Regions from separate parts of the Homo sapiens genome. Here region 1 is linked to region 2. Evidence: promoter capture Hi-C in human tissues and cell types (Jung and others, 2019). All regions are on one chromosome and are shown on one strand. Each heading gives the region's core, a stretch centred on a gene start or on the middle of the fragment in contact. The rest is flanking DNA. Distances are from core to core; before and after follow the strand shown. Region 1 overlaps MAN2A1 (mannosidase alpha class 2A member 1). Region 2 holds the start of FBXL17 (F-box and leucine rich repeat protein 17).

Region 1 (5,242 bases), core at 877-3,376, 1.4 Mb before region 2:
AGTGAGCTATGATAGTACCACTGCACTCCAGCCTGAGTGACAAAGACCCTGTCTCTAAAATTAATTAATTAATTTAATTTAATAGAAATAAAAATAAATTTCTCATATGGTTCAATAATTTCTGCAAAGTTTTAATAAGCAGGGGATGTACTTTAAATCTTTCACTGTATAGTAAACAATACTTTATTCATAAAATACTCATTCAAAATAAGTTGAAAAATGTGAAAGACGTTAAAGAATAAAATTTAAAAACTCACTACCTTGATATATATGCACAAAGGGTTATGGGAGCCAGAGTTTTTAACCAAGTTAATTTACTTAACATTATACCATGAGCATCTTTCCATATCAAGAGAGACATATATCATTATGTTTACTGTATTGTATTATATTATTGTATTTATTGTATTGTATGTTTATATTGTATTACATTTTCTAAAATATTTTAATTGAGATATAACAATATACAATACACATATTTTCAGTCTCATGAATTGTGACAACTGTAATCACTATCCAAAATAATATAGACTACTTCCACCAATTCAGAGAGTTCCCTCATGCCCCGTTCCAATCCATGCTCGCCCACTCACCCTGCCCCCAAAAAACACTCTGACATTCCATTTCTATCACAATAGATCAGTTGAGTCTCCTCTCAGAATTCATAAAATGGAAATCAAACAATATTTACTCTTCTGTCTCTCTTCTTCTGCTGAACATTTGTGAGACTCATCCATATTACTGTGTATTTCAGTAATTTATCATTTTTTTACTGCTAGGTATTCTGTTGTATGAATATACAACAATTTTTTAATCCATCACCTGCTGAAGGACATTTAAACTGCTTGCAGTTTGAAGTTACTAGGAAAAAGCCTGTATGAAAATGTCTGTACAAGTCTTTTTGTGAACATTTTTTCATTTCTCTTGGGTAAATTGCTAGGAGTGGAGCCCCCAGATCACATGGTATATATTTTAAGTTTGGAAAACTCTTTGGAGGCTTTTCAGAAAGTCGCCCCCATTTTGCATTCCCACCCGCAACATATGAGTTTCTGTTGCTACACATTCTTGCCAACTTTTGACGTTGTCATCTTTTTTATTTTAGCCATTCTAAAAGGGTTGGAAACAGTATCTTCTAGAAGTTTTGATATGTATCTCCCTGATGGCCAAGATTTACCCAGCTTCTACACACACACCCTCGCTGCCCACCCTCCCCAACTGCTGCTGTCTAATAAACATCTTTCAGATGTTCAAACATGCCCTTGTTAATCCCTGGCCCATAATCACCATTCTCTTCTCACAACCTAAAATTCCTTCTCTGCCCTCTGACACCCACTTCTTGACTGGCTAGTTCTAGTCATCATTCAGGTTTAAGCTTGAATATCATTTGCTTCAGGAGGCCTTCCAAGACCCCCTTCTTGCCTCTATAGAAGAAAACCCTTTATTATTATACTGTGTTTAATTACATGTCTTCCCTGCTGTTTTCTGAGGGCTGGGACCAGGTCAGTCTTGCTTACCTCCTACATTTCTGGAGCATAACACAATAAATATTTGCTGAATGAATGGTAGAAGTAAATAAGGGAAGGTTTCAGAGATGAGGTAATATTTCAGCTGAGTGTTAAAAATGAGTAAGACTGAAATTATCCACTGCACAAAAGGAAAAAAATAAAAATCCAAGCTGAACACAGGCAAATTCCTAAGAAGCACAAAACGGCATGTGTCTGAGGACACCCGTGGCTCAGAATGCCTGAGTAGAGTGTGAAGCAGGAAGTGACTGGAGATAAGGATGAGCAAGTCGGGAGGAATCAGACAGAAAAAGTCAGTATGTGTCAGGCAAAGGATAGTGGCCTGTGCCTTTTGAGACTGAAGCACCACAAAGCATTTTAAAGCAAACATGGTGGGACTCACATATTAGAAAACTAACTCTGTTGATGAAATGGCAGACACTTAGAAGTGGCACAGCTGGAAATGGAAAGGCCATTTGGAGGTTTTCACAATAGTACGAGACAAGAGCAATGGAGACGAAAAGCAGGGGTCAGAGTCTGGAGACACTGAAGAGGCAGAAGTCACAGAGTTTAGGGACTAACTGGATGTCACAGGAAAGGGAGGTGGAAAGGCAGAGCACCACAGAGGTGAAGATTATTTGCCCACTATTTCTGGGGCAAGACTGCCTGGCTTGGGTCCTATTTCCACACTTACTAGCTGGGTGACCTTAGGCACTTTCCTTAACACCTCTGCTTCAGATTCCTCAACAGGAGAATGAAGATGATAAAGAACCTTAACTCAAGAGAATGCTACAGGATTGGCTGAATAATTAAACGAGTGCTTATCTCTTACTATTGCCACTAACTAGAGAACAAGAAGTCCAGGTTGGATCTTTAGATCTGGAAGTAGTCCAAATGCCTGGTAATTAAAACAACAGTGTGGAAAAGCATGCAAAATGAAGAAAACTAAGCAGTGTTCCCCAACAGGCGAGAACAGGAACATTGGGGAAGTAAGCAGAAGAGGAAATCAGAGAGGTGATGAAAAATGAATGGTCAGCAGTGCCAGAATAGACCCGAAAGTGAAAGAGCTCAAGGTCACTTCAAAGCCAAAAGAGGACAGAATTTCGAGGAGAATGGAGTGATCGATGTCAATGCTGCAAAAAAATCCTCTCTGAGGCTTGAGAAAGTATCCAAGGGATGGGCAGAGCACCTGAGAAGTCCCTCATGGCTTTTACAGGTCTCCATGACATAAATAGATGCCAGTGGTTGAAGGGAATGAGAGGTGGAAGGATAGCCGTCTCACTCAAGACGAACTGGAATTGAAAAGGTAGGGATAGAACATATGCTTTCTAAAATAAACGTAAACCACTGCTTCAACTATTAGAACTAAAGTTATTTTAGACCCTGGTGCATTGCTTTCAGTGCTTTGATGAAATGCTAAATATCTTTAGATTCTAAACTCAATCCAAATCTGCAAATGACTCTGAATATCACAAGACACACTGTAACTTCCCATTGCTCTATAAATTTTACAGCAACCTTCAGTTAAATACCATAAAATCCAACCTGTATAAAACGTATAATGAATTAGTCTGTTTAGGAAGATTAATAGTCCAATTTCTTAGAAAACCCAAGATGCACATTAGTTAAGTTTGGATTCTTATTTAAAAATGTAACATCAAATATTTCTCTGATTTCAAGAAGCAAGCAGAGATAGTTGAGAAGACAGTGGAAGGTTCACTTAAATATAAACCTAGGGGAAAAATTGTAAGAAGATAGTACAAAGATTATATAAATAAAGAGTTTGCATTCTTGCTAAAGCAATGAAACCCACCAATTTGGTGAAGATAAAAAATCTATACTAACTGATGGTACCTTCATCTCAGCACACATTTGGAGCCCCTTTTCACACTAAAAGATCCACAAAGAGAAACTGGTCAAGACTTTGGTGAATATATAAACTGTTCTTAGGTTCTAATAATTCGTGGGTTTCTCCACTCAACACTGGTCTCAATAGCAAGAGCAGATGCAATATAAAAGCTGTTCCAATATCTCAGAGCCCAGAGAGGAACAATGAATATGTAACATGCTGTGTGCTAGTCAAAGGAAATGCTAAGGCTAATGTTTCAGCTGCCTGACTCTCAATAAGGGTTCACATTTTGATGTATTATAAACATCATGCAGTATTTAACTGCATTTAGCCAAAAAATATTCAAATGTGAAGCCTAAAAAGTTTTAAAAAATTACACCACCAGTCATTTTCAAAATAAAACAAGCATAGAAAACAATACACTGATTATTTAATGGAAGGCAGCTTCTTTTAAATCCACTGGATATGTATTACCAGTAGGTACTATGATTATAATTGATTAAATTATTTCAGATCACACAAAAAAACAGAAAATATAGATGTTGTTTACGTAGATCTCTCTTTAGTTAACTAGATTTTCACTTTTAAAAGCTTATAGAGTTGAATAATAATGCTGCTGGGGGAGGGGATAAGAATCAAACAAGTCACTGCTAGAATAGATTATAAGGATCATTTGAGTTTTGTTTCTGTTAAGTTCCCACAATCAATTGGTATTCTTCAGGGACAATGAAAGCTTACGTGGAACTCTGCTGGAATTAACAGGTTCTGCTCTGCAACAGCTAGCTTGCAAATTTAGGTACAGATTTAATCCATAGCTCATCTTCAAAAAGAGAAAAGCCACTGCATAAGCATTACACTAGAAGTCACACAAAAAAATCTATTAGTAATGCCACTTAGTACAAGCTCAGAATTTAAATAACAGGAGCAAACTTAAATATCTATTAAGTTTTCCTCCAAAAACATACATTTAAGCAACTAACACTAAGAATGTTTTGTTCAAGTAAGTGGGGGGGAATGCTATTACCCTAGTTCTAAAAACAAATGTAATAAGTGAATAAAAGTGAATTATTACAGCTAGAAGAGAGAGAACTTTAGCAAATCTTGACCAGAAACAGAATTCATCTGCACTAATCTGGCTATAAAACCATTTTTCCTTCAAGCAAAATGATACTGTTCACGATCAAGCCTGTATTCCAGAATATTTTCCAATGCCAAAAAAGCTGTTCTCACTCAGAAGGAATCTGAGTGAGACAAATCTGAGTGAGACAAAGATTGAGCACTAGATTCTAATCTGCAGTCCCCTCCAATATCTTACCATATTTTATGTGTAATATTGGACTGATGCATGAAATTGCCATTTTTGTATATCAAAAGTAGTCAAATATTGGCAATTTTATATGGTTCAACCTAAGAAAAATAACCAACAGAATAAAAAAAAGAGAGAGGGGAGGAAAATTTGCATCCAGGTAGAGTCAGGAGAAACAGGCCATCCGCAGGCCATAAAATTGGCAGCATTTCTGACAGATATGGTAAAAGTAAAACTGAAATAATTCAAGTACTGACCTGCAACTGCCCTGCATGAAAAATCAGCATGGAATCCCAGCATAAATAAGAAGATTCTGAGAGATTCGGTCAACAGCTCCTAAACTGAAGGGCCAAGGGCTGAGGCAAAGCTGAGTCTTGGGACAGATACTAATCACAGACTCTTCGCCCTCATGGCACTTGTGTGAGTCCCCCTCTGCAGAAGTCTCTCTGCCCATGCACTGTGACTGCTGCAGAGGCAGTCTCCTTAATGAAGCCATGCTGGGAGAGAGCCAAGCATGGCTGGCCTCACCTGACCACAAGCAGCCAGCAGCAGACCCAGTTTCCTTCTGAGGTGGCTGGACTCTGT
Region 2 (6,039 bases), core at 1,372-3,871:
GCTCTCCTGATAATAGTAGTAGCTTATTTAATCACTGATGAACTATACAAGACTCTCTCTGCTATTTGCTGTGGTAAAGAAATAAAAAGAAGGGTTAGAGATAATCCTAAGCCTCAAAGAATCTGAAATTTTTTCTGGGGAGAACTAGTGGTGTGATGATGGTGGGTGATGAGAACAGACATGCAAAATATCTAAATTATAAAAAAACAAGTATCTTTTGTCAGCACAGAGTCCAATAGGTAGACCAAAGACAATTTGCTTGTGGTTGAATGGTTTAGGAACTGGGAGTAAGGAAACAAATATTGTAAATTTTAGCAACGACTTCAGAACTCTCAGAGTCAGTTGCTTCATCTCTAAAAACAAGAAGTTGAAGTTGGATGGTATGTGTAGTTCTGATACATTTGCATGGTGCCAGGCTGTCTGTACAGGAATCACATAGGGAGCCTGTTACCAGGTAGCGATTCGAGGGCCCCGTATCCAGAAAGCATAAAACATCCTAACTTTTTGAGATTCATCCATGCTTTTTCTCTTGTGTTGCTGAGTAGTATTTAATTAGATGAATATATCAGTTTATTAATCCGTTCTCCCACTGATGGACATCTGGGCAGTTTATAGTTTTTGGTGACCATGAATAAAGTTGTTACGGACATTTTTGTACATGTCTTTTTATCGATATATGCTTTTATTTCTCTGGATAAATACCTAGATGTGGGATTGCTGGCTCATAGGGAAGATGTGTATTTAACTTATATGAAATGTATAGGTCGCAATTTTTTTTAAGAGACTGTGTTTCGCTACGCTGCTCAAGATGGACTACGGTGGCTATTCACATGCATAATCATAACAAGCTGGGCTTAAGCGATCCTCACGCCTCACCAGCCCTGTTGTAGTTTGAATGATAGGTACCACCACATCTGGCTCTGACAGGTTCATATTTTTGACATAAAGTTACAAAACACTTTATAATACTCTTGCCTTTTGTGAAAGTGCAGCCTAGTAGAGATGTCAAAGGATCTGTAATAAGTCCTCAAGCACTGCTCTGGGGCCCTGGAAGATTCTCCTACAGGCAAATGGATGAAAGTTATGTGGATTATATGTGTACGTAAATGTCGTTCAGGCAATGCATTTGATAGTGAATAGCGTGTATGTCTGTGAAATCTTTTGACAAATATTTGCTTCTAGAATTCCACATAACTGTCATTAGGCTCTGAAAGGATCCCTGAATGTGACAGACTTAAGATTGGTCATTTCTGACAAAAAGGCCAGAATTAACAATTGTTTGACAGCATGTTTGAGAGCAGGCTGGGTGGGGCTGGCCACTATAGTGGGAATAGCAATGTAGGTTCCAACAGTGGTCTTCTCCAAGCCACTGGGCCTTGAATATTGCAATACTTCTTCCTCAGTCAGCTCTCTCAAGTTATCCTTAGCAGATTTTTTTTTAAACACCTGCCACTTCTCTTCCACCCTTCAGCAGGTAACCAAGCTCTATCTGAAGCAAAACAGAAACCAACAGAAAGGAACTCTTTCACCTTCCTGCTAGAAACATCCACCTCTCTGTATCCGTCCTTTATCTACCTTTCCTCATTCTCTGTAATCACAATGAAGAAAGTATCCTTCCTAAAGCACTCTCCATTCCACCTTCTCCTCTTATTTCTCTCACTAGAGTGGCTCATTCCCATGGTATTTGCCTCCTCTAATTTTTCGCTTGTGAAAGCTAACCTCTCCGCACCAGGTACCGCTCTAGCAGCTGCCCTAGCTCTTTAGCCTCGATATAGTCAAACCTTCTAAAGGACTGCCTGCATAGCTGTTTCCTCTTTCTCATCTGGATCACCAACGTTTGTCATATAGCAGGCACTGCACCGTCATGTTTAAAATATACAACAGACGGCTAGACAGGATTCCGAGGGTGTAGACAATAAAGTGATCTACAGTTTGTAGCCTGGGTGTTGAATGGCTCACTGGGTGGGGAAGCTGTTATCTTTCTGCTGTGCACAGGTAATTTGATATATGCTTTCATTCTGAAATAAAGTTGTGGAAAGGCAGTAGTACGCAACAATTAAGAAAACACAAGTGGGTAAACAGTGGTGCCGCACAACCAATCAACCCCTCACATGACTTCGGTGCGCATCACCCAGGGGCCGCATCTGCCACTCTGCCCGAAGCGCGGTCAGCGCCCACACTGGCCCTTCCGGCGGAACCCGCCTCGCGGCTTCGAAGTGGCCTCGGTTTCCGAGTCAGGGGTGGTGACAGGGGTGGAAGGTGAGGGGAAGAGCCCAGCGGCTCCCGGCCAATGGCAGCTCTTGAACTTACACCTCGAGACGTCAGCGCGGCTGTGTAAACGGATGTCACACAGCTGGCTCGGAAGTGTCTCCTCCCGCCTCAGAAACGCGGCGCACGCCCAGCAGCTTCGGAAAAACCTTAGGCGGTGGGAGGGAGGGGCGTGCGCCGCACCCCGCAAGCCCAGAGCTCCGTGCCCTAGCCGGCCGGCTTCTTCCCGTAGTGCCGGTGTGACGGCCGTCCCGGGTGAGCAGCCGGGTGCCGGCGTCCCCGCCACGAGCGCGCCACCGCAACTGGCTCCGCCCCCTGCCGGAACGGGCCGCGCGCTCCTGCGGCTCCGAGCAGAGTCGCGGGTGCGCGCGCCGGCGGCGGATCCGCAGTTAAAATGGTCCGAGCGGGACCCGGCCTTTCCCCGGCCGCTCCGCTGACTGACTGAGCCGGCTGGCCGGGCCCGGACTGGTCGCCTAGCCGGCAGGCTCGCTCGCTCCCTCCCTCGCGTCCCCAAAGCTCGCGCCCATCGTTCTCCCGGCTTCCCTGGGCAAAGCATGTAGCCCCCGTCGGGCACTCCGGCGGCCCGCAGCTGACGCCCACCCCCCACCGTCGCGTGTGTGCCCGTGTGTGCGTGTGTGTGCGCAGGAAGGGCGACCCCTCCGGGGGCCGAGCCAGCGAGCGGCCTGCCCCGCTGCCGGGAGCCCGCCTCTCTGGGTCTCCCTCCCTCCCGTCCCGGTCCCCCTCCTCGGGGCCTTCTATATGGGCCACCTTCTCTCGAAGGAGCCGCGTAACCGCCCGAGCCAGAAGAGGCCTCGCTGTTGCAGTTGGTGCCGCCGCCGGCGCCCTCTCCTCAGGCTGCCCCGCCGGACCCCAGCCAAGGTGCCCCCTCAGCCGGCGGCGCCCCGGAGCCGGGACTGCTTCTTCCGCGGGCCCTGCATGCTCTGCTTCATCGTGCACAGTCCCGGCGCGCCCGCCCCCGCCGGCCCAGAGGAGGAGCCGCCGCTCTCGCCGCCGCCGCGGGACGGGGCCTACGCTGCCGCCTCCTCCTCTCAGCACCTGGCGCGGCGCTACGCGGCCCTGGCCGCCGAGGACTGCGCCGCTGCTGCCCGCCGCTTCCTGCTATCCTCGGCCGCCGCCGCCGCCGCCGCTGCCGCCTCGGCTTCGTCGCCCGCCTCCTGCTGCAAAGAGTTGGGGCTGGCTGCGGCCGCCGCCTGGGAGCAGCAGGGCCGAAGTCTCTTCCTGGCCAGCTTGGGGCCGGTGCGCTTCCTGGGGCCGCCCGCCGCCGTGCAGCTCTTCCGGGGGCCGACACCGTCACCGGCCGAGCTCCCTACGCCCCCCGAAATGGTGTGCAAGCGGAAGGGGGCCGGGGTCCCCGCCTGCACCCCCTGCAAGCAGCCCCGCTGCGGCGGCGGGGGCTGCGGCGGCGGCGGCGGCGGCGGTGGCGGGGGAGGGCCTGCGGGGGGAGGCGCTTCGCCGCCCCGGCCCCCCGACGCCGGCTGCTGCCAGGCCCCGGAGCAGCCCCCGCAGCCGCTCTGCCCTCCGCCCTCTTCTCCCACCTCCGAAGGTGCCCCCACCGAAGCTGGCGGGGACGCTGTCCGAGCCGGGGGCACCGCCCCCTTGTCCGCCCAGCAGCAGCATGAATGTGGCGACGCGGACTGTCGGGAGTCCCCCGAAAACCCCTGCGACTGTCACAGGGAGCCGCCCCCCGAAACCCCAGACATCAACCAGCTGCCGCCGTCCATCCTGCTCAAGGTGGGTCTGGGCGAGAGGCGCAGGGATGCTCGCTTTCCCCCACCCCCGGCCCCCGCCTCCGAGGCTTTCTCTCTCCTCCCCCTAAGCGCGGAGGAGGGGGGTTCCCTGGCAGCCTAGGGACGTCCCAAGGGGAGACTGGGAAGCCAGTGGGGCCTCTGCCTATGGCCTATTTTTTGAAGTAGGAGCACTTGGAGTCTACTGAATGTCTTTTAATAGCTTGACTCTATAACCCACCATTCAGGGTTCAGCTATTATTAGAATCCCAACCCAGTGGTTTAGAAACTTCGCAGGTATTCTGTGGAAAAAAAAATTTTTTAATCGAGGAATTTATACTTAGTGGGTAAAGGCTTTGCATGTTGGTGTTTGAAAGTCTTTAAACATTACTTTCATGTTTGATGGCTGGTAGTTAATGTCAAACGGTTAACTTACTGAGCATTTACCATAATCAGGCACTGCGCCAGACTTTATATATATAATATCCCATTTATCTAGTTAACGCTTCGAGATAAATACTGTTAATATCTTTATTTTATACAGGAAGAAACTGATTTCTCCGTGCTGTGGGCCACGGTTTATAGTAGTGAGTCAGGCAGAAGTGGTCTTTGCTCCTGTGGAGCTGACAGTCTAGTGGGGCTTGAAGTGGTTGAATGACTTGTGCAAGGTCACATACAGAAAGTAAAGGGTAGATCTAGGTCTTGAATGAGGGAATTTAAGACCACCTGACTTAAAAACCTCTTTGTTTATGCTATGTTGTAATGCCCTTCTACATTTTAACCCTTGCATAAAAGCATACAGATTACCAGAGGTAAGCACAGATGTATTTTTTGTTGGGAGATGGGTGTCCTGCATGAAGTTTGTGTCATTTTCAACTACCAAGAATATTTTGCAGTTTTGTCAATGCTAGTGACAAACTTTAGTTACATAATAGAGTTTTTATTAAGTTATTATTAACTTTTTCCCTCCTTTTCTCTCTTCTCCCACCCTACCCTATTTGGAGCTTAATAAATATAAACCATTTTCATTGTGGATGATACTAGAGACTAGCCATAAATAACCTTGATAAGAATTTGGCTACTTTTACCGTTACTGAAGTAACTGTCATTAATTACAATTGTTATTGTCACCAATATAGTTTCTTTGACTAGACTTTTTGCATATTTACAGTACTGTGTGTTTGGGTCTGTTTTACAGTGATATTATTGTTCTTGTGAGTGATACAGCAAGAGGGTGGGAAAACTTACATTTCCTTGTGTCAAAATGTAATGATCTAATTCTTATGGAGGTCTACTTGTTGGAAGAGTAATTGCCTACTCTTTGTGTGCAGAGGTGCATTTTAGGACAAAGGGAACTTTCTTGAGTCCTTTAAATCACTGGGTGATATGGATAAATAAAATATCAACAAATATTTGGTATAGAAACTTGATTGCTGTCTTCTTATTTGGCAAATAAGACTGTTTCAAAATGAACCAAAACAAAGCCAGGTACCTTCTACTTACAAATTATTTCATGAGGTAAAAAACATTTTAATGCCGAGAAAAAAAAGGGACATGATCTCATAATAAAGAGAAACTCTAATAGAATAAAATAAACTTATCCTATACCGCGTTGTTCTCTTTCATATTTTTTCCTGAGGATTGTTGAAAACTTTGTCTAAAGGACATATGGGAATTACCATGGGCTTGCCCTATTGTGTGTATTTGGACATGTTATGTAGATTTCCATTCCTTGTATTAGAAAATTCTAATAAAGATTCTCTGTCTGAGTCTGATGGTCCTAGTGGTATTCAGCACGAAGTGAGCTGTACTGTCTGGGATGAATTGAATTAGCGATTGTTCAGTGTCTGCCAACCCCAGTTTTTGGGTGCAGCGACTCTGGATTCGTAATCTTGTTCATTGCTCTGTCTCCTCCTTTAAGTGCAGTGTCTGGCATATAGTAGCGCTCAGTAAATACTTACGAACGAATGTATCATCAGGTGTTTAGAGTCTGTGCTGAGACTCAGGGTGAATACGCCACACCACG

What was found. The method cuts DNA at HindIII sites, captures the fragments that hold promoters and counts their contacts. A contact is called where the count stands out against the background at its distance.
Region 1: a contact is called between a fragment that was not itself captured here and the fragment with the promoter of FBXL17 in region 2, in 1 of the 25 tissues and cell types used here (lymphoblastoid cells).

What each region holds. Positions count from the first base shown.
Region 1 is chr5:109,740,454-109,745,695 of GRCh38, reverse strand. All of the region lies in intron 4 of MAN2A1 (mannosidase alpha class 2A member 1), which reads right to left. Among named protein-coding and RNA genes, the nearest start is that of MAN2A1-DT, 52 kb to the right of the region's middle. The HindIII fragment of the contact is 6,334 bases long and covers 1-5,242 here.
Region 2 is chr5:108,378,680-108,384,718 of GRCh38, reverse strand. It overlaps FBXL17 (F-box and leucine rich repeat protein 17), which reads left to right and starts at 2,621. Exons shown (of 9, transcript NM_001163315.3): 1 at 2,621-4,020. The coding sequence starts at 3,028. RefSeq lists an enhancer at 2,251-2,370 and silencers at 2,471-2,720, 2,921-3,670, 3,691-3,770. The HindIII fragment of the contact is 17,757 bases long and covers 1-6,039 here.